Regions from separate parts of the Homo sapiens genome. Here regions 1, 2, 3, 4, 6 and 7 are each linked to region 5. The links are contacts of gene promoters, found by promoter capture Hi-C in human tissues and cell types (Jung and others, 2019). All regions are on one chromosome and are shown on one strand. Each heading gives the region's core, a stretch centred on a gene start or on the middle of the fragment in contact. The rest is flanking DNA. Distances are from core to core; before and after follow the strand shown.

The links. Contacts are between HindIII fragments. The study calls those that stand out against the background at their distance.
Region 1: a contact is called between the fragment with the promoter of ZDHHC12 here and the fragment with the promoter of GOLGA2 in region 5, in 1 of the 25 tissues and cell types used here (dorsolateral prefrontal cortex).
Region 2: a fragment that was not itself captured here is called in contact with the fragment with the promoter of GOLGA2 in region 5 in 1 of the 25 tissues and cell types used here (dorsolateral prefrontal cortex).
Region 3: a contact is called between a fragment that was not itself captured here and the fragment with the promoter of GOLGA2 in region 5, in 2 of the 25 tissues and cell types used here (dorsolateral prefrontal cortex and lymphoblastoid cells).
Region 4: a fragment that was not itself captured here is called in contact with the fragment with the promoter of GOLGA2 in region 5 in 2 of the 25 tissues and cell types used here (H1 embryonic stem cells and dorsolateral prefrontal cortex).
Region 6: the fragment with the promoter of TBC1D13 here is called in contact with the fragment with the promoter of GOLGA2 in region 5 in 2 of the 25 tissues and cell types used here (dorsolateral prefrontal cortex and spleen).
Region 7: a contact is called between a fragment that was not itself captured here and the fragment with the promoter of GOLGA2 in region 5, in 2 of the 25 tissues and cell types used here (dorsolateral prefrontal cortex and lymphoblastoid cells).

Annotation. Positions count from the first base shown.
Region 1 is chr9:128,722,718-128,725,784 of GRCh38, reverse strand. It overlaps ZDHHC12 (zDHHC palmitoyltransferase 12), which reads left to right and starts at 1,658. Exons shown (of 5, transcript NM_032799.5): 1 at 1,658-1,791. The coding sequence starts at 1,692. It overlaps ZDHHC12-DT (ZDHHC12 divergent transcript), which reads right to left and starts at 1,323. Exons shown (of 2, transcript NR_046240.1): 1 at 1,150-1,323. RefSeq lists a silencer at 1,290-1,769. The HindIII fragment of the contact is 17,684 bases long and covers 1-3,067 here.
Region 2 is chr9:128,607,117-128,610,039 of GRCh38, reverse strand. SPTAN1 (spectrin alpha, non-erythrocytic 1) reads right to left here. Exons shown (of 57, transcript NM_001130438.3): 32 at 2,337-2,436; 33 at 1,991-2,188; 34 at 1,764-1,910; 35 at 1,063-1,166; 36 at 756-918; 37 at 375-389. Among named protein-coding and RNA genes, the nearest start is that of DYNC2I2, 48 kb to the left of the region's middle. The HindIII fragment of the contact is 5,536 bases long and covers 1-2,923 here.
Region 3 is chr9:128,691,519-128,694,615 of GRCh38, reverse strand. It overlaps SET (SET nuclear proto-oncogene), which reads right to left. Exons shown (of 8, transcript NM_003011.4): 3 at 2,616-2,758; 4 at 1,851-1,954; 5 at 1,635-1,748; 6 at 808-978; 7 at 574-720. Among named protein-coding and RNA genes, the nearest start is that of SET, 3.8 kb to the right of the region's middle. The HindIII fragment of the contact is 6,023 bases long and covers 1-3,097 here.
Region 4 is chr9:128,625,575-128,628,626 of GRCh38, reverse strand. SPTAN1 (spectrin alpha, non-erythrocytic 1) reads right to left here. Exons shown (of 57, transcript NM_001130438.3): 48 at 2,649-2,858; 49 at 1,940-2,236; 50 at 1,129-1,241; 51 at 685-702. Among named protein-coding and RNA genes, the nearest start is that of DYNC2I2, 30 kb to the left of the region's middle. RefSeq lists an enhancer at 960-1,605. The HindIII fragment of the contact is 6,522 bases long and covers 1-3,052 here.
Region 5 is chr9:128,274,591-128,277,504 of GRCh38, reverse strand. GOLGA2 (golgin A2) reads left to right here and starts at 1,498. Exons shown (of 27, transcript NM_001366244.2): 1 at 1,498-1,612. The coding sequence starts at 1,529. SWI5 (SWI5 homologous recombination repair protein) reads right to left here and starts at 1,229. Exons shown (of 5, transcript NM_001318089.2): 1 at 1,103-1,229; 2 at 750-798. The coding sequence starts at 1,164. RefSeq lists enhancers at 995-1,124, 1,985-2,034 and a silencer at 1,725-1,834. The HindIII fragment of the contact is 26,420 bases long and covers 1-2,914 here.
Region 6 is chr9:128,785,810-128,788,750 of GRCh38, reverse strand. It overlaps TBC1D13 (TBC1 domain family member 13), which reads right to left and starts at 1,498. Exons shown (of 12, transcript NM_018201.5): 1 at 1,375-1,498; 2 at 344-417. The coding sequence starts at 1,397. RefSeq lists a silencer at 1,361-1,850. The HindIII fragment of the contact is 9,895 bases long and covers 1-2,941 here.
Region 7 is chr9:128,586,014-128,589,203 of GRCh38, reverse strand. SPTAN1 (spectrin alpha, non-erythrocytic 1) reads right to left here. Exons shown (of 57, transcript NM_001130438.3): 20 at 1,506-1,598; 21 at 261-395. Among named protein-coding and RNA genes, the nearest start is that of SPTAN1, 35 kb to the right of the region's middle. The HindIII fragment of the contact is 3,861 bases long and covers 1-3,190 here.

The DNA.
Region 1 (3,067 bases), core at 409-2,908, 450 kb before region 5:
TGGTGGCTCACACCTGTAATCCCAGCACTTTGAGAGGCTGAGTTAGGCAGATCACTTGAAGTCAGGAATTCGAGACCAGCCTGGACAACATAGTGAAACCCTGTCTCTACTAAAAATACAAAAATTAGCTGGGCGTGGTGGCATGTGCCTGTAACCCCAGCTACTTGGGAGGCTGAGGCAGGAGAATCACTTGAACTTGGGAGGTGGAGGTTGCAGTGAGCCCAGATCGCGCCACTGCACTCCAGCCTAGGCAACAGAGTGAGGCTCTGTCTCAAAAAAAAAAAAAAAAAAAAGGTGGGCATTCATTGACTCTTGCAACCAGGGGATGCAGAGTCAGTATCAGCTTCAGGGACAGCCGGATCTAGAGGGCTCAGACAATGTTGTTCAGACCATCTCTTGCTCCCTCCTTTAGTGCTGCTTATCCATCTCTATGTGTCTTTATAAGTTGGTCTCATTTTCTCCAGCCACAGACAGGGTAAGCCCTCTCCGCCCAGCGTAAAGACGGCTCCCAGTTGCCTTATATCCCATTCCTTAGGCTTGAGATCCAAAAGAATGCTCCTTCCTCTCAGCATCTAGACAGTAATCTCATGGAAGGCCTGTGATTGGTTCTGCAGAGTCGAAAGCCCACAGCCTGCCGCTCGCCATCCTATGGGGTGAGGGGCAGTCCCTCCAATCACATGGGATGGGAAGTCGATTCCCCAACCAAAAAAAGGATGTTGAGCTGAGAAAAACAACAGATGTCAGAGGAGTATCCTGGAGGAGCTGGGATGGGGCCAATCAGAGGGAGGCGGAGGAGGATGCTGGTATCAGTGGGAGGTGCTGTGGAAAGGCGGGGCTGAGTGGAGAAGGCCCTGGGGACACAGGGAAGGAGGACAGCCTGCAGCCTCCGGTGAGGAAAGTCCGCCTGTAGGTGGTGGCTCACAGCAGGAGAGGCAAGACAGTCCCGTGCTAGACAAGGCGCTTCCATTATTTAATCCTCCCAAACACCTTAGGAGGAAGACACTATTGTAATCCCCCTTATAGAGACAGAAAACAGCTCAGAGGGGCTCAGTAACTCGCCCAGGGTCACACAGGTAGGAAGGGGCAGTGCTGGGATTTCTGACTCCCGCCTAAGTTGGATCACCCATAGTCAGAATGTGCACCACGTACCTCCACTTTTCTCTCGTCCGTTTGCAATATCTGAGAATACATAGCAAGGAGGTAAAGCTGTCACCACAGAGCAACCTTGGGCGAGCCTTGGCCCTCTCGAGACTTTAGTCATCACATCTTTGAAATGGGTACAATTTTGCCTCCCGGACTCACAGCAAGCCGCTGGATCTTCGAAGCGCCCAGGGAGCTACGCGCATGCGCGAGGCTGCGAGGGCGGGCACAGGGGAACGCGGGGGAGGGCACAGCGGAGCGCGGGGGAGGTGCGCGCGCGCTCCGGCGCTTTCAAAAGTTACCTGGCGGGTGGGGCTGGAGTTGAGGGAGTTACCAGCTGCGCGCGCGCCGGCCCCACCCTCAGCCTCTTCAGGCACCTGTTGGCTTGAGGGTCCATTCGGCCGCAGATGCCATCCAATAGGCAGCCTCCCTGACCCAGTCCGGCCCCGCCCAACGCCTAGATCCACCAGTCCCCGGGCGGCGGCGTTCCCCTCCCTCGGAGGGCCCGCCCCTCTGGGCGCTTCTTCCGGGTGGGGCCCCGGGCCGAGGCGATGGCGCCCTGGGCGCTCCTCAGCCCTGGGGTCCTGGTGCGGACCGGGCACACCGTGCTGACCTGGGGAATCACGCTGGTGCTCTTCCTGCACGATACCGGTGAGCCGGACCCCGAGCGACCCCGGACCCACCCGATCCCGCGTACTTCCCCAGACGTTCTGGTCACACTGGGTCTCCCGCCTAATCCCTGGAGATCCTGGGATTGGCCCGATCTCCACCAGCTCCTGAAGCCCTCTCCCCATCTATCATTCCAAGAGCCACCTGCTCTCTGTCTGATACCCCGTTGATCCCTAATTAATCCCAGCATCTTCCTGATCATTGCCAAATGCCCTGTCCATCCCAGGACCCAGCCGGTGCCCACCAGATCCAAGGACCGACTTGAGCCCCATGTCCCCTGATCCTGGGACCCACATGATCCTTCCCAGGAACTGACCCCAAATCTTCCTATCCATACGATTAGGAGGCTCAACTAGATGCAAAGATTGGCATTCTGCCCACACCCACACCCCCCACACCCCCATGGCCACTAGCTGCCCAAGTCCAGGCAAACCCTCAGGCCAGAGAACACTCCATGGGGTGCGGCCTGTCTCCCATCTTCCCACAGATTCACCCACCCACCCACCTCCATTTCCCTCATTCCTCTTAGTAGCCCCCTACCCAGCGCCTCACCTGCCACAGGCAGCCTCCCCCACTGTCCCCCACAGCAGACCCCAGCCCTCCTTCCATGGCGGTCCAGCCTCAGTTTCTGGACTGGGGCCCCTTCTGGCTTTCCTCCCAAGACAGACCTCCTCCACCACCTTCACCCTTTAGCCTAAAAACTTGCTCAGGTCTCCGTATCAGAAAACCCCCCTCAAAACCCACCCTTTCTTCTCTGCTCCCCCTTACAACCAAGGGACACAGGATTTGTCTACACTCTGCTGTCTGGTGGTCTCATGCCCCCTCACTCCTTGCCCTGCACCCTACCTCCCCAAAATCCTGTCACCTCCCTGGGCTGAAGCCTGCTGGACCCTTCCGTATGCCCCTCTGCAGCATCTGAGCCTGCCAGCTGCACCCTTCCCACTGTATCTCTCTCAGGCATTTCAGACCTAACCAGTCTCTCACCATTGCAGAGCCAGAGACGCTGGACCCCTCTTCCCTCTCTCCCACATCCAGTCAGGTCTGGCTCCCTTGACCCAGCAGCCCCCTGTCCATTCCTTCCTCCCTCACTTCCTGCCAGGCCTTTGTAGCGACTCTCTTCTTCCTCCTGGCCAGATTCTCTGCCCCCAGGCTTCCCCTGATCCATTTCTTTAGCAATGAGGTTTTCCAAAACAGATCTGGCTCTATAACCTTCCATGGTTCCCTCTGACCCTCCAGATAAAAGTGCAGATGAACTGCT
Region 2 (2,923 bases), core at 124-2,623, 330 kb before region 5:
CCATGAGCTCATAGCAAGTCTGAGCCAATGTCTACACAGAAAAAGCTGAAGCTGATGTTCCATCTTCAAAAGGAAGCACTCCTTGAAAGAAAATGGTCAATTACTGCCCCGCAAATCAAACACTGTACAGAATTTGCCTAAGTGATAAACTGGGGGAGAGAAGGGGGAGTAAGGCGTTGCAGGCTAATTACAACAGAAAAAGCCACATCCCACAGGGACACTTGAATGGAGTGTAATGGATGATTAGAAATGAAAAGGATGGATGAAGAGACACCAGCAAACCGTGTGACCACAATAATAACAATAATCTACGCAGAGTAACACAAATACTGGAGCTCATTTAACTACAACTCTTAAAAAAATTAAAAACTTACCAGCAGCTTGGAAAGCTACAAAAACAGATTAAAAGAACAAGAGTTCAGTACACTGATGTGGACACACATATCAGCTATTAAATAGAAACTCATTTTGTCATACTTCCCCCAGGAAGCTCAGCATTTGGGAACAGTAATAGAAGGGGGATTCTATAGACTTTTATTACAGCAGAAATAGTTTTAATGGAGACAAATGAGGAAGGCAACTTTTAAATGGCTCTGAAACTTGACTAGGGCTTTCCCACTGGCTGGGCTTACTGAAATATTTCTCACTGACTTCCCATGGGTGCAAGGAGATTGTTTTATAAATGCTTTATTTAACAAAATCTACTCAATAACATAAGGCTACATCAAGACCAACACCCAGTCACTTCAGCTTACCTGGATGTTGGTGGGATCCTTGTACGACTCATCACTCGCTGTTTGCAATTTTTCACTGATCCAAGCCTCAATCTCATCCACATCCCGGCTGAACTGTTGGAGGGTTTGAGATTCTCCTAGCTTTGACCTTTTCTCAATCATCTGGGCTTTCAGACGTCGCCACCTGAAAGAGTGAAACCATGAGATCCAACATGAGCATATCTTACCGTGGAGAAGGAAGTGGGGAGACAGAACAGGCCTGGGCCTTCGTATGAGGGGATGCATCCTCTCAGGGCTGGTGACTATGTCAGTGCCACAGGACACCCACCTGTCCAAGACCTCATTGCGCCGGCTAGAAATGTCTCCCTTGGCATAATGGCCGGCAGCGATGAGCTGGTCGGCAAAGGCCTGCAGAGCAGCAATCTTCTCTTCCTGTCAGAAAACAAAGGCATGAGATCAAGGTGGGCCTGTGGCTGGGCCCTGCCTGGACTGCCAGTCTTGAGAAAAGGATAGTTATTTTGGGTGACTGAGAACTAGCTGGTGGCAGGATCAGAATACACTGACACTTTAGAAGCAAGAGTGTAAAATGCCAAAAGAAAGCTTGATTTCATTCATTACTAGAGTAGAGTTTAACTCAAGAAGTCTCCAGGTCACTCAGGTGGGGCAGGTGTTAGAATATCAGAACAGAACAAAATTAAGCCTGATAATAGGAAAATGCTGTCAGATTTACAGCAAAGTGACGTATAAATCAAACAGTTTTACATCTTCCTTGTTGTTTGTTCATTATTCCCTTACCTACCCACACATTTGTTTTCCATCCCTTTGATAATATTTTTTTTTCCTGTGGCACCCCCATTATTAAAATCTCAGAAATACCAGAATCTATAAAGTTTTAAAGATTATTTATGTACATATTTTTCTTAGACAACGCAGGTATTCCTTGGAGATATAACAGTGACTATATAAGCCAAGAAACAGATGTCAATCAGGAAAAATCCAGACTCCAACTCCATGGTCCAGAGGCCTCACCTGGACGTTAATCGCTTTGTCAAAGTCTTCATGTTTTTTGATCAGAGCCTCTACGCTGTCCAGTGAGTCTCCTTTGTCTTCGGTATTCAAGAAGGCCTCCCGGGCAGCCATCCAGTTCTCAGCTTGCTCACAGTCCCGATGGAACAGCTAAAGAGGGCAAGAGGCAGGTGAGAAAATGAGGCCCTTCAGCAAGGAAACACTTGGTCAGAAACCAGGAGCACACACACCTGCAGTTCAAGGCACTGATCCAGCATCATCCTGCGCTGAACCCAGGCCTTCTCCAGGTCTGCACGCTCCTGGTCAAGAATATCAAGTTTCTGCTTGATCTCAGGGCTGGCATAGTGTCCGTGAGCCAACAGCTGCTGTCCAAACTGCTCAAATGCCTGGAAAGTGCCAGCCCTGGCATCGATTTCTGTCCGGTGTTCCTGCCAAAAGGAGGGAAGGGATTAGGTAACTGGCAGCAGATGCCCACTCTGACGTCAACCACCGACTCACCACAAAGGGTGGGAATGAGGCCTCTAGGGCCCTGCAGAGCAGCCACGTCTTTGCTACTCAGCAGGCAGGTCCACCCACCTGGTGTCGCTCCAGCAATGCCTCAGCTCCGGTGACATCCTTGGCTAGCTCATCTGAGGACACCAACCCCCGTATTCCATTGATCCAAGACATGAGGTCCCTGGAAACCAGCACCCCAGAAAAATAGCTATTATATTACCTGGTAAGGAGATCTTCTGCCCAGGAAAACAGAGAATGACATAATTCTTGCCTCAGAAAGTTATCTTGGGTTAATCTGATCTACTGAATGAGGCTAGGTCTTTGGGCAAAGTGTTAAAAAACTTCTTGTTATTTTTTTAAAAGTCCGAATTTCTCAGAGGAAAAGTCAGTAGGCTTATAATTAAGATCTTTTCACCCTCCAGAATAACAAGTTCTAGCTACAATTAAGTCTTTGATAGCTTCAAATGAAAAAGCTTTTGTTGGCCAGGCGTGGTGGCTCATGCCTGTAATCCCAGCACTTTGGGAGGCTGAGGCAGGAGGATCGCTTGAGCTCAGGAATTCAAGATCAGTTTGGGCAATGTGGTGCAACCCTGTCTCTAAAAAAAAAAGAAAAAAAAGAAAAAGCCTTTCTTTAGGATTAACCCTTGAAGCCCTAGGCCTGGGCATAC
Region 3 (3,097 bases), core at 1-2,500, 420 kb before region 5:
CTTCAGGATTAATGCTGAGACTTGCTTTCATATGGACCACAATGGACCCCACGAGTGCCCCTGGGGGCACTCCAGTTTCTAAACCTGTAAGTCAGCTGCATCGAAGGAAACACCCGTGATGATGTTGCTTCAGATTAATTAGTAACTTCAGTTCTAACCAAATCAGGTATATTTCGGATCAAATAATCCGAAATAAAACCAACCTATCCTAATTTGACTATTCAGAAATTGTGCAGTTTGTCGAAAATACATGAAACTTTGTTATTTCAGAGATGTCAGAATTTGACCAGCTACACTGCCTATATTGCCTAAGTACTGGCTAGGGAAAAACAAGCTTGGGTGGTGATAAGTCTAACCAAAAAAACCCAAAAAAAAACCAAAAAAAACCTAGTTAAACATTAGTACCATGTGCTTATCAAACATTTCCTTAATTCTTGAACAACAAAATGGCTTACTTTTTTTCCACAATCAGTTCTGGTCAGTTCTACCACACTATATATATATATATACACCCCAAAATAACATGAATTCTTTAAAAGTTATCTTTGTGGGTTTAGCCAAATTTTCTTTTACCTCTCCTTCCTCCCCTTCATCATCATCTTCATCTTCTTCACCTTCATCCTCATCCCCTTCTTCGTCAATATCTTCTAATCCTTCCTCCTCTTCATCATCATCATCATCTTCTTCTCCTTCTCCTTCTTCATCATCCATATCGGGAACCTTAAAAAAAAAAAAGCACAATATAAGGACTCATTTTTAAACAACCGAGACAAGTCCAACCTTGAATAAATGAGTATTAGAACTCACCAAGTAGTACTGTAATGGGTTTGGCCAAATATCATCTTTGATGACCTCTCCTAACTCATCAGCACCTGCATCAGAATGGTCAGTAAACCAGGTAAAGAAGCTCTCTGGTTCCTCATGCTGCCTCTTCCTGCTGGCTTTATTCTGCGTTTGACTCGAACGTTTCGTCAAATCCTAAATGAATACCGGAAGAGCTTTTGATACAATCTCTCCATAACACCCAAACTCCCTATAATTTAAAAAATAAGATTTTCCCCAAAAGCTAAGCAAAACAAATATCAGTATACTATCTACGCTACCATTATTACCTAAGAGCAATTATAAAACTGTGCAGCAGGTAGAGGTAGTATCAACTACATTTGGTTTTCCATAAAATTAGTTCCACTGTTAACAGCCACTAGCACAACACAGTATAAATATCTAAACTATGTCTTACTACCTAAATACGGATGTAAATGATTTTGAGAAATGGCAAGCCATTTGAAGAGCTCAGTCACCACTGCAGAAAACAACAGCAACAAAAAATTTAGTCCAGTTCTCAATTCTTAAACTTGGGCTAGATTTTTCTCTTTTTTTTTGTTTTTTGGAAGGTAAGGGTCTATGTTGCCCAGGGTAAACTCCTAGGCTCAAGAGATCTTCCTGCCTACATCTGTAGTATCTAATGAGAACCCTAAACTACTGTAATACTTGGCTTCAGCACACTGGAACGTTTTATATTTTAAGGTTTTGTATTTAGCCACATGACCAAAGTATCAAGCACTTGTAAGTGGTTAAAACTAAACTGAAATAGGCAAAATGCTATTTTTGTCAAATAATTCCTCAAAACATACCTTTCCAGATTTCCATTTGATTTCGGTGGACTTCGAAGATGGATCACCACTCTCATTCAGATGAAATTCTTTGGAGAGAACTTTATTTTCAAAGTAAGGATTTTCATCAAAATACTGTAATAAATAATTGAAAGATTAGAAATATGAACAGGTCTTCCAACCAAAGCTCACATTAATTTCCACAGTGGCAAACAAGATTAAGTTAGAGATACTTACAAAATCTATTCTGTAACCTGATTTAATATCTTCAAATTCTGTCACTTCAACTCTGGTCAAATAATGCAGTGCCTCTTCATCTTCCTCCCCAAGCAGTGCAGACACTAGGCCAGAAAATTACAGGTCAGCTGAATTTTCAACAGGCACACACTAACAACAATTTAAGTGATCCCTTTAAAATTTTTCCGAACTTAGTGAGCATCTTTGGTTTTATAAACCCATTATTAACTAAAGGCAATTGCTCAATATCAGACTGTCACTATCTTTCATCAAGCAATTAGAATATAGCTTCTCCTAAACAGAATAGAAAGCAGTAGCTGTATATCTTTTCCCGTCTTTGAGGTTTTTTTTTTTTTTTTTTTTTTTTTGAAACAGTCTCACTCTTGTCGCCCAGGCTGGAATGCAAAAGCGCACAATCTCGGCTCACTGCAACCTCCCCCTCCTGGGTTCAAGCGATTCTCCTGCCTCAGCCTCCCAAGTAGCGAGTAGCTGGGATTACAAGCGCGCGCCACCACGCCCAGCTAATTTTTTTTGTATTTTTAGTAGAGACGGGGTTTCAACCTGTTGGCCAAGCTGGTTTCGAACCCCTGACCTCAAGTGATCCACCCACCTCGGCCTCCCAAAGTGCTGGGATTACAGGTGCGCCACCGCACCCAGCCTGTCTTTGTTGCACGCAACCCAGCATGCTGGACTAAGTCTTCACCAAGCTTCCTCCATTCTAACAAACACTGTTTATCCTTTAACAATGCCCTGTCCAAAACATACCTTGTGGATGGTTGACAAATGTTGTTACCCAAAAATTTGGGATTTTGGCGATCAATTCTGACCTCTTCTGAAAAAATGGTTGGCGGAGTTTGTTATATTTCTGTTCTACTTTCAAAATCTCCTCACTGGCTTGTTCATTAAGTCTGAAGCAAATGAAAAGAGATGTTGACAATGATAGTATTTAACAAATTAAAAAATTGGTTGAGATTACAGAGTGTATTTACTTACTAGCTTGAGTCATGCAAAATAACCAAATTATAATAACCATTATCACCTAATTTAGACACTCAAAACTAAGATGGCAATTTTGTCTGATTTATCAATAAACACTGAGTAATAATGACTGTTAAGAGTGCCCAAACTCAACACTCTGGTAACGTGTGTATTTACTTCGCCCACTCCATTTCCAGTCCAATTTCAATTGTTTCCCTCAAGCGCGATTTCTAAATAAAGTGGCTAATCCATAACAAAGTTGTAAGGCA
Region 4 (3,052 bases), core at 553-3,052, 350 kb before region 5:
TTACAAAGGTGACCCGGCCAGGCAGAGGCCCCAGGCCAAGCAGAGAAGTCCCTGCCGGGACTGGGCGGGACAGCCCAGCCCTGCTCCTCCCTGGGGCTCCTCCCACGTCCTGTCTATCACATAACGGGTGCATTTTTGCCTTCTATTAGGGCGGACAGTCTTGTTACCCTCCCTGACCCCAGGAAAGTAAAGTGGCAGCCTCAGCTACTTAGGGGGTGTCAGTGCCCAGCCCTTCTCAGCTGTGGACTTACTGTACCCTGCCTGAGCCCCCAGCACTGCCATCTGCTTCATGCCCACTGACCACTGTTGGACTCGCTGGGGAAGCAGAGGTGAGAGCCCAACAGAGCCCGGTGGCTGGACAGGCACGGGGGTTCTTAGGGCCTCTGGACTCCAGCTCTGGCCTTCGTGCTTCATCACCTTCCCTACCCAAAGTGAGCCCTTGGAATCGCCCAGTGAGGCAAGGACGGCTCCCCCTGGCTTGAAGGCTCTATCGGGGACCAGGGACCATGGGCTATGGGGCAAGGCACACACTCCTCATCAGGTGACGAGAAGGGTGGGAGGGGAAGTGCAGCCCGCCCTGGGCAGGAAGGCCCATCCCGGGATCCTCCACAAGCCAGGCCACGAGGGGCAAGCGCACGAGACCCCCACATGACAAGCCCAGAGAAGGAAGAAAACAATATTAACCCATCGAGGAGGTATGTCCTGTGGAGAGCAGATCCAAGCAGCCGGGAGACAAGGTGGTGTCCGGACAACAGCAGCAATCGGGGGGACAGAGAGAAGACACAAGAAAGAAAGGAAAACAAAAGCAAGAACATCAGTACCCAACGCACAGACCCTGCATCGTCTGTCACCAAGTCATGGCTGGGGCTGACCACGCGCCCTGCATGGTCCCACTCAATCCGGGATCTCTAACAACTTGATGTCTGGGACATGCAGCACTGAGAGGCTGCTCCACCTATGCCCCCACTCCCGGCTCCAGAGCCCGACCAGGCGTTGCCAGCCCAGCTTTATTCCCAGGCTGCCTCTGGTTTTACACAAAGCACCACCACCTCCTTGGGGCTGGAAGCTCCCCAGGGCTTAAGTACAGCAGGGACATGCTGCTGCTCCCCGGCCCCAGCGGGCTGGCACCTGGTCTCTTGGATCCACTGGTGGAAGGCGTTGGCGTGCTGGGCAAACTCCTGGCGCAGCTTGTCGTTCTCCTCCTGCCGCCGCTGTTCCTTCTGCAGCTCCAGCTCCCTCTCCTGAGGGCCAAAGGGGGGCAGATGCTGTGCGCTGCTGTGGCAGTGACACCAGCCCCTCCTTCACAGATGGGCTCAGGGTGGTGGTGGCCTCCCCACAAGGAACCTCCCCAAAGATGAGAGGAGGAGGCTGGGAGACATGAGGCCGGCTCAGAGCACTTGGTAGTTCTTTCTCTGTTCCCACCCCCCAGGGGCTTCAAGGAAGAGGCGGACCTGGAGGGAAGCGACTGGTCAGTCAAGCAGGGAGTTGCTGGACTGTCAGAAATGGAAACTTCTGGCTGGGTACAGTGGCTCACACCTGTAATCCCAGCACTTTGGGAGGCCTGGGCAGGAGGACTGCTTGAGGCCAGGAGTTGAAGACCAGCCTGGGCAACATAGCAACACCCTGTCTACAAAAATTAAAATAATTAGCCAGGCGTGGTGGCACGTGCTTGTAGTCCCAGTTATTCAAGAGGCTCAGGCAAGAGGATCACCTGAGCCTGGGAGGTTGAGGCTACAGGGAGCCATGGTAGCACCACTGCACTGAAGCCTGGGTGACAGAGACCCTGCCTCAAGAACACAAAAAGAAATGAAACTTCTGATGAAACCATGCTCCTCCATCCTGCTCGTCTTGTCGTGACTCAGTTAAGTGTGGGCTCTGAGCAGGGCCCAGAGAGGGCTCTGGGAGGCCGAGCAGCTCCTGAGGGCAGCGGGAGGTGTACCTTGATGATTTTCTGTAGGTTCCTCCAGGTCTCCTCCAGGGCCTCCATGGTAAACCAGGTGTAGGGGTTGGAGGCTACGCGGAAGCTCTTGATCTGGCGGTCCAGCTCGGCCAGCTGGTTGAAGTCAGCCTGGGCAGAGCTGAGGGAGGAGCGGAAGGCGTCGTGGGCCTCGCGCAAAGCTTTGATTTCTTCCAAGGAGTTGCAGCGCACGGGGTCTGTTAAGTCCTCCTCTGCATTTTCAAACCAGCTGTTGAAGGCAGAAGCCTTTTTGGCGAAGGTCAGGAAGAGGTCCTCCACCTGGAAGCAGAAGAGACTGAGTTGGCGGAGTCGCCAGGGCTGGACGTGCCGACGCAGTGCAGGAGGTGGGGTGCGGGGTGGTTCCTGGGAATCAGAGGCGCACACAGCCTGCTGGGAGCTTAGCTCCCCTCTGCTCCTGTCTCCTGCTCCCCCTTCAAGTCTTCACCAGCCTTTTTTCCCCTTCCTACCCTTTGCCCTTGTCTCTAGTCTGTCCTGCGTGCTTCTGAATGGCGATCTCACAGGGCCCTCTCATTTGCCCTGGTTTTAATTGATGCCAGCCACACCCATGTTTGAAAGCTCTGCACTGAGCTCACAGCTTCCTCAAGGGGGAGTGGCAGAGCTGGGCAGACAGAAGGTGGGCGTCCTTCCTTGAGCTGTGGGCCAGCTAAGCTTCACGTGGCCCCATCCTCACCTTGCGGAAGTGACTCTGAGCCTCCAGAAGCTTCTTCTTGCGGGCGGCTGAGTTGGCCAGAAGCTGGCTCCACCTCTTCATGAGGGAGGCGTGCCGGGCCTCGATGGCCTTGGACTGAACGTGTTTGGCGGCGAGAAGCTGATCTTTGAGGGCAGTGATGTTGGCAATGCCTTCCTGCTGGAAGGCCTGCAGCCCAGCGTCAAAAGTTTCCTGAACAAGGAGTGACAAGCCAATTTGTGGTGACTCCACAGGACTGGAACTTGCTCTTCCTAGGCTCAGATGGCACCAGCATGTCCCCCAGATGCCCAAGCCAAACTGTCCACCTGGACACTGCTGAGACTCAGTCACACATGCCCCCTTTCCTGCTCTCCTTCAGACCGCAGATCACTGCGGCAGCCTCCTCC
Region 5 (2,914 bases), core at 249-2,748:
TCGGCTTACTGCAACCTCCACCTTCCGGGTTCAAGCAATTCTCCTGCCTCAGCCTCCTGAGTAGTTGGGATTACAGGCCTGCACCACCACGCTCGGCTGATTTTTTTGTATTTTTAGTAGAGACAGGGTTTCATCATGTTGGGCAGGCTGGTCTTGAACTCCTGACCTCAAATGATCTGCCCGCCTCAGCCTCCCAAAGTGCTGGGATTACAGGTGTGAGCCACTGCACCCGGCCCTCACGATCTACCTTAAGAGTGGTGGTAGTTGTAGTGGCAACTCCATCTGGGGGATGAGAGAAGGAGTAGGCTGCGTTTTGGGGGTGGCTTGCCAGCGAAGAGGAGAGACTATTAGCAACGAAAGGAGTGGCCAGGGTGAACGCCAAGCATTTTCCTGACTGGGGAGCTATGGGTTTGTTTAAAGGCAGGGCTGGGTGAGGGGTGAAAAGAGCGAGGAGGAGAGATGGCTGGTGCTGGACTGGAGTGAAAGGCATCTGAGGAGCCAGGAGACAGGATGGGGAGGGAGAGGAGTTAGCCTAGGACAGGACAGGATAACACTTCTTTGAAGACTGGCGGGCATGAGGAAAGGAAGGGGAGGGATTCGGGAATGACCTGGCGGTTCTCAGTCGACTGGGAGAAGATATGGAAGAGGGCCAAGCGGGGATTGGCTGCTGTTGGGATGGGGAGTGGGGCCGGGAGCGCACAAGGGAAGGTCGAGGATGGGAAAGGGGGTGTGGGGGAAGAAATACTCACAGGGGATCGGAAGGCCCCGCGGCAACTTCGGGTAAGTCTTGGTTCAGTCCTAGAGAGGAATCCGAGGGGAAAGTCTGATTGGACCCACAGCCCGCTGTGAGGACGGGGTACTGTGGGGATGCGGGAGGAGGAGCAGTTGGGAAGTAGGAGCGCCAGGGACTGGATCCATCTGGAAAGGGGGCAGACACGCTCTCAGGATCAGGGTAGAGACCCTCTAGGAAGGGGGCGTTCTGAGACGGGGGTTGTCTGGAGCACTGGATGGGAGTCTTTGGAGGTGATTTCTGGGAAGGGAGAGTCTGGGGCAGGGCTGTGAGGAGTCAGGAAAGAAACTGTGGAGTCCGTTCCTCGCCCACCTCCTGAGCCCTGGGGTCCGAGGCCCCCGGATCAGGGGGTTCAATGGCGCAAGAGGGTCCAGCGCGGGAGTCGGAGAGCGACCTCTCAGGTGCACCGGGCCAGGAACTCTGACCCGGAGTGTGAACTGGCGCACAGAAAGCTGCGCGCGCACCCAAGGAAAGCCGGCCCCGCCCCTCTCCCGAGGTGGGCGGGGACAGCGGTTGCGTGCGCAGCTTTTGTTGTGACGCCACAGGTCCCTCTGGCCACGCCGCTGCATAGCCACGCCCCCTTCCGCTTCATATTTCTCATTGACCAATGGGCTTTGATCTTTGAGGCCACGCCCCCATTCTGCGCTCCAGTATCGCCCTGGTTACGCCTCCTCTGGCTCCGTCGCACAGCTGCGCGGTGGCTGACTGACTTCCGCAGTGGTTGCCGGGATCGCGCTGATGTGGCCCCAACCCCGCCTCCCTCCCCGCCCCGCGATGTCGGAAGAAACCCGACAGAGCAAATTGGCCGCAGCGAAGAAAAAGGTAAAGTGCACCGGGTCGCGGCCCCCCGACCCAGCCCCAGCCCCACTCCGATGGCAGGACCATGGCCAGAGTCTCTGCCACTCCTGAGGCACACCGGGCTGGGCTCCCCACGGCGCGTCCGGGCTCCCTCCACCAAAGTCTTGTCAGCCAGCCCCGCCCCCTCAGCCGCCCAGCCCCCGCCCTCGCCAGTCGCCCCCGGGTGACTTTGGGCTGGTGCTCCCGGGGCTCCCCGCTCCAGACTCGGCCCTCACCTCCTGCCCCCCGAAGTCCGACCTCCCTGGGCTCTTTGGGCTGGCGTCTCCAAGGACCTAGGACCCCAGCAATTCAGCCCCTGCCCTCGCCAGTGACTTTGGGCCCGTGACTCCCGGGGCCCCCCGCTCCAGACTCGACCCTCACCTCCTGCCGCCCCAAACCGGACCTCCCGGGGTTCTTTGGTCTCGGGTCTCCAAGGACCTGGGTCCTGGCCCTGCGGTCCCCTCCCCCATCGCGGAGCGGCGACTTGGACGTCGCGCTGATGTTCCCCCTAGGAGTGGAATGTAGTGACGTCACAATCCCCCTCGGAACCGTAATTAGTTGCGCGAGACCAGTCTTTGATCTTAGGACCCAGTCCCCTAAGTGTTCTCATCCCGCTTCTGGTTCCTCTGGTCACAGCATAAATTTCCAGCTGGAAGGGGATTGGGGACTATGGGACCTAGGAGGGAGAGGTTTCAGGCTGCCTTACACCCTTAACATAGACATTGACAGTGTGAAAAGCCTACACTTCACCCGTGAACTGAAAACATTGGCAGTATCTCTGGGTGGCAATGTGAGAACGGGATTGGTTTGGTTTTCCCCCAGGCTTCTACTCTCCAGAGAGACTTTAACATTTTTTTCTGACTTCTCCACCTCATATTCGAATTCTCCATGGTTCTGGGACCAGAGTGCCCTTCAGTGGTCTCTGGAATGAGATCTGCTTATCTTCTGTGGAACAGGTCTTGGGAAACTGAACTTGACAGCTTGAATCTTCCTCATATCATCTCAACCTGGGGTACTTGGAGTGCCACAGGATAAATACGGGGCATCTTTCTGAAGCATCAGTCTCCCTTTATTCTCTTGAGAGAGAAAAAACATTAATGTACTTAGGGATGACAGTCACATAAATTTCTAAGAGTATACCAGACTTTTCTCTGAAATGAGGCTTGGGTTGTCCTCTTTCTGTTAAATTCCCAGGTTCAACAGAAAGGCTGCCTTCTGCCATGTGGATACATTGATGTAAAAGTTTGAGAGGCATTGGTGCATTTCTTAACATTACCAAACGTGTGA
Region 6 (2,941 bases), core at 249-2,748, 510 kb before region 5:
AAGACTGTCCTGGGCTCAAAAGGTCCCAACTCTCATTCTCCAGGCTTCAGTCCTGTCCTGTTACTCTCAGGAATCTGGCACCTCCTGCGGAAAGCTTAGGAAAGCTTAGGGCATGCTAAGTGTGGCCACTGCCCCTCTGGGAAACCCCTCCAAGCTCAAGGCAGTCACTGCCTGTTCAGCTCTACAGAATCTGGAAAAGGCCCCAAGAGTCTGTGTGTAATTTCCTTCCAAGGCCCCAGCCCCCAGCAGCTGGGCCCCAGAGCTGACCAGGTGTGGCCTCCCCCTGTATTCTAGCCACAGGGCTGCTGTAGGGAAACCGTGAAAATACAGAATGGCTTCTTACCACTAAAGCTGAGTTCCCGCAGCTTTTCCAATGCAATTGAGGGCTCCTTCAGGACATCCTGGAAATCTGCAATTCTGGAAGGGGAGATAGGGCGGCAAATGAAGCATGCTGATATCGGCTCAGTGAGACCCACAGCCCTCAGCTCCCTCACACTGCCAGTTTCCAACCTGTGCCTCTCTCCCCTTTAGGACATAAAAATCACACAGCTTAGTCAAGGTCCTCACCAAAGACAGCTTTGGAGAACAACAAAACTATATTTCACTTCTTCCTCTACAACCAGAAACACAGAATGCCAGGGAAGAAACTTGAGAGATATTCTTGTCTAGAAGTTCCCAAATGAGGACCATAAAATTAGACATATTCCAACATTCTAATACTTAGTGAGCTGACATTTACTGGGCACTTCCTGCCGGCCAGGCCGGGTCCACGCACAGCCACCAACTGAACTCCTTGGACCTCAGGAACCAGGAGTAATTTGATATGCAGACAATGGACCATGCTCACAAATATAACCATTACAAGACCTCTGGGCCTGCCAGAAGGCAAGGACAAAGGGTTTAAAAAACACGTCCTGAAGGAAAACTGAAGAGTGAGCAAAATTCAGCCAATGCTGCAGGATCTGGCCTGGGGGAGGGGCCAGACTGGAGAATGCAAGTTCTCTAGCAATCCTAGTAAGAAAAAGGCACGGGGGACAGGGTGCACTTGGAGAGAGTACGGGAGCAGGGGGATCAAAAGGGGGAAAGGCACGGGGGCGGGGCATGGGGGTCTGGATGAGGAAGACTCAGGGGAAGGGGGACACCAGGGGTCCAGGATGAGGGAGGCAGAAGCAGTGACATCAGGGGCAGGAGAAGGGCCGCCCCTCCGTCGTTCCTGCAGCCCACAGGCAATGAGGTTAGAAGGTGGACGCTCGAGACCCTCTGCCGAGGGGGTCTGCCGATTCCTGGCCACACCCGCGCTTCCCCCTTCTGAGGGGCAGAAGGGGCAGCCTGGCCAGGAGTGGCCCAGCCGGGTCAGGCCCCATGGCCCCTTACCGGCTCTTGTGCAGACTTGACATGGTGTTGACTTCCGGACCCCCCAGCCGCCTCCGCCGCCTGCGCCTCTGCCGCCTGCGCTGCCGCCGCCGCCGCCGCCCCCCAGGGACGCGGGGCTCTGCGCAAAAGCCTCCGGCGGGAAACACAGCCACTAGCCTGCGCGTTCCACCGCCTCAGCCCCGCCCCGCCCCGCCAGTCACGTGCCACCCCTCGACTCTCACGCTTCCACACGGTACTGGCGGCTACGGCCGGCCGGGTTGAGCGGGGCAACCTCGGGTCTGGTGGGCGTGGCAATCGCGGGCCGGGAGCCCCAGCGCCGCCGACCCTGCGGGCCAAATTTGAGAACCCGCCGGTGACAGCGCAGACTGTGTGTCTCTGGACTATTCCTTGCGCTTCCCTGGGCCTCAGTGTCTACTTACGCAATATACCTGTCACCCTGTCGTCTTCCCTGCACTCACCCCCCTGTAATTAACTACTGCATGATTGTTACAGGAGTCTCGGCCTCCCCTGCTAAACTGTTCAGGCCCCCCAGCTTATCTTGGTCTCTGCAGAATCCTCAAGGCCTGTATAGCAGGGACTCGCATGAACCGCCGTGCGCGGCCCAACTTTTTTTTTTTTTATAAAAACTATACCAGCAAACCCTATAAAATGTAAGTTAGGAAGAAAGAAAAAAACACAAATGATATCTTAAGAAAAATAGGCTGGACCGGGCGCGGTGGCTCATCCCTGTAAATTCCAGTGCTTTGGGAGGACGAGGCAGGCAGACCACTTGAGGTCAGGAGTTGGAGACCACTCTGGCCAACACGGTGAAACCCCGTCTCTACCAAAAATGCAAAAATTAGCCGGGCGTGGTGGCAGGCGCCTGTAATCCCAGCTCCTCGAGATTACCTTCTTTACAAAAGATGTAAAAATTAGTTGAGTAGGCCGGGCGTGGTGGCTCACGCCTGTAATCCCAGCACTTTGGGAGGCTGAAGCGGGCAGATCACCAGGTCAGGAATTTGAGAACAGCCTAACCAACATGGTGAAACCTCGTCTCTACTAAAAATACAAAAATTAGCCGGGTGTGGTGACGCACAACTGTAATCCCAGCTACTCAGGAAGCTGAGGCAGGAGAATTGCTTGAACCCGGGAGGCGGAGCTTGCAGTGAGCCGAGATAGTGCCACCGCACTCCAATAGCGCCACCGCACTCCAACCTGGGCAAAAACGCAAGACCCTGTCAAAAAAAAAAAAAAAAGAAAAGAAAAGAAAAGAAACTGCTTAAAGATTTTCCGAAATGGTTGTATTATTTAACACCTTTTTCTTGAGAAAAAAAAAAAAAGAAAGAAACAGCTAGCCAGGCGCGGTGGCTCACGCCTGTAATCCCAGCACTTTGGGAGGCCAAGGAGGGCGGATCATGAGGTCAGGAGATCGAGACCATCCTGTCTAACACGGTGAAACCCCATCTCTACTAAAAAATACAAAGAAAAAAATTAGCCGGGCGTGGTGGTGGGTGCCTGTAGTCCCAGCTACTCGGGAGGCTGAGGCAGGAGAATGGCATGAACCTGGGAGGCAGAGCTTGCAGTGAGT
Region 7 (3,190 bases), core at 224-2,723, 310 kb before region 5:
GACACTCAATGGTGAAAATAAGCTATCCTTCTGAGTGTGATTATCTATGCTTCTTGCAGGTATTCAAGAAGACAGATTAACTTCTTGGTCATACACAGTACTGCATAAATGTATGTCACGTGGGGGATTGGTGAGGAAACTCATGTCTTTGAATTCTAAGCCTTCTCATTTCAGGGAGACATGCAACCCACAGAAACCCAACTGAGCATACGTGGAGGTGCCAGCGTGGAACAAACACACAGCCACTCTCTGTGCCTTGCCTTGTTGGTGCTGTTGAGTAAGGTAAGGATATCTCCCTTCTTCATGGTGACCTCTCGGGGACTCTTCTCCTGATAGTCGTAGAGAGCCAAGACCAGCTCCTTCCCAGTCTCATCATCCGTGGGGGCCACTTGTTGCTAAAAATCCAAAGGAAGGGCAAACATGGTAAAAACACGTCCGCGCTGAGTCATCTAAGTACAGAGCAGATTCAAATGCCACCAGCTGTACCAAATGTACCAAATATACACTCATGAGAATTCTTCACTGAAGCTACCAATAAAATCTGATCCAAGAACTTTAAATTTTTGGTATCTTTAAAAAAAAAATCTCATTTTGTCTGGGCACGGTGGCTCATACGTGTAATCTCAGCACTTTGGGAGGCTGAGGCAGGCAGATCACCTGAGGTCGGGGGTTCGAGACCAGCCTGACCAACATGGAGAAACCCCATCTCTACTAAAAATACAAAACTAGACAGGCGTGGTGGTGCGTGCCTGTAATCCCAGCTACTCGGGAGGATGAGTCAGGAGAATCACTTGAACCTGGGAGGCGGAGGTTGCGGTGAGCCAAGATCAGGCCAATGCACTTCAACCTGGGCAACAAGAGTGAAACTCCATCTCAAAAAAAAAAAAAAAAAATCTCATTTTAAAGTAGGGCCGGGCACAGTGCTCATACCTATAATCCCAGCACTTTGGGAGGCCAAGGCGGGCAGATCATGAGGTCAGGAATTCAAGACCAGCCCGGCCAACATAGTGAAACCCCATCTCTACTAAAAATACAAAAATTAGCTGGGCGTGGTGGCGGGCGCCAGTAATCCCAGCTACTCAGGAGGCTGAGGCAGGGTAATTGCTTCAACCTGGGAGGCAGAGGTTGCAGTGAGCCAAGATAGTGCCACTGCACTCTAGCAAGACTCCATCTCAAAAAAAAAAAAAAAATTTAGCTGGGCATGGTGGTGAACACCTGTAATCCCACCTACTCAGGAGGCTGAGTCAGGAAAATCGCTTGAACCCAGGAGGCGGAGGTTGCAGTGAGCCGAGGTTGTGCCACTGCACTCCAGCCTAGGCGACGGAGTGAGACTCTGTCTCTAAATAAATAAATAAATAAATAAATCTTATTTTAAACTCTGTAAATCTTTGTGTCACAAGAGTTAATAGCAGAGTCAAATGGGGCCTATGATAGGAACACCTGCTGACAGTATCTGAGTCCTTCAAGGCCTCCCTCCAGTAACCCATAAACTGTTACAAGTTTACCCGGCAGGACTGTGCTTGTTCTCGCAAAGCCTGGATGCTGCTGCCGTAGGCACTGAGATCTGACATCAAAGCTTCGTGTTTCTTCAGTAGAGCCTGAAACCAAAACCACACATGGAGCACTGTGCAGGGGCTGAAGCCTCCCATCCTCCACTGCCTCGCCAACCTGCCATCCTGCCTCAACAGCCTTTCTCAGTTGCACAATGACGTAATCACCTCCTGCCCTTCTTACAGTGCTAATATCATTTTCAAAGTTTTTCAGGATTCTCATCTTTTGGGACAATCATATATATTATGATTATAGCTTACTCATCCTGGTCTAGGCACAGAGGCTTATGCCTGTAATCCCAGCACTTTGGGAGGCTGAGGCAGGCAGACAGCTTGAGCCCAGGAGTTCAAGACCAGCCTGGGCAACATACTGAAACCTCATCTCTACAGAAAATACAAAAATTAGCCAGATGTGATGGTGCGTGCCTGTAGTCCAAGCTACTCAGGGGACTGAGGCAGGAAGACTGCTGAGCACAGGAGGTCAAAGCTGTAGGGAGTCGTGATTGCATCACTGTACTCCAGCCCTAGCGACAGAACGAGCGCGGTGCCTCACGCCTGTAATCCCAGGACTTTGCGAGGCTGAGGCAGGCAGATCACTTGAGGTCAGGAGTTCAAGACCAAACTGGCCAATGTGGTGAAACCCCATCTCTCCTAAAAATACAAAAAAAGTTAGCTGGGCGTGGTGGCGGGCGCCTGTAATCCCAGCTACTTAGGAGGCCAAGGCAGAAGAATCGCTTGAACCCAGGAGGTGGAGGTTGCAGTTATCCGAGATCATGCCACTGCACTCCAACCTGGATGACAGAGTGAGACTCTGTCTCAGAAAAAAAAAAAGAAAAGGAAAAATTCAACTCATTCTAGTTTTTGTGAAGAGTGGTAAGAGCTAGGTACAGGAACTATACCTAGACCTTTATGAATAAAATTTGAGAATTTTAGTCAAAAAACAGATAACCAGTAAAAAACCAAGTACATCTATGTATGTATGTGTGCATGTTGGTATGTGGGTATATGTGCGCACTGGTATGTACATGTGTATGCTGGTATGTTTGTAGGTATGTATATATGTATGTGTGCATGTTGGTATGTTAGTATGTATGTAAGCACACATATGGTTTCACATAGATGAAACAAGAGTGACAAATGTTAACGGTTGAAGGTGAGTGAGAAGTCATCTTCTCTCTCCTTTAGGTATGATTACATTTTCATAATAAAAAGTGAAAAATGGGCCAGAAGGGGTGGTTCATTCCTATCATCCTAGCATTTTGGGAGGCTTTGGCAGGAGGATTGTTTGAGGCCAGGAGTTTGAAACCAGATGGGACAACATAGCGAGACCCTGTCTCTACTAAAAATAAAATTAAAATTAAAAAGCGTAGCTAGGCAGGTAGTGGTACCTGCCTATAGTTCCAACTACTTGGGAGGCTGAGGCAGGAGGATCGCTTGAGCCCAGGAGTTTGAGGCTGCAGTGAGCCACAATTGTAACATTGCAGTCCAGCCTGGGCAAGAGTGAGACTCTGTCTCCAAAAAAAAAAAAAAAAAAAAAAAAACCAAGTGAAAAATGGATTCCAAAACATTTTAAAAAACAATCACTGTAATGCACACCTCCCGCGCATCACTACTTCTCCTAACTTCCTTCTCAGTACAAG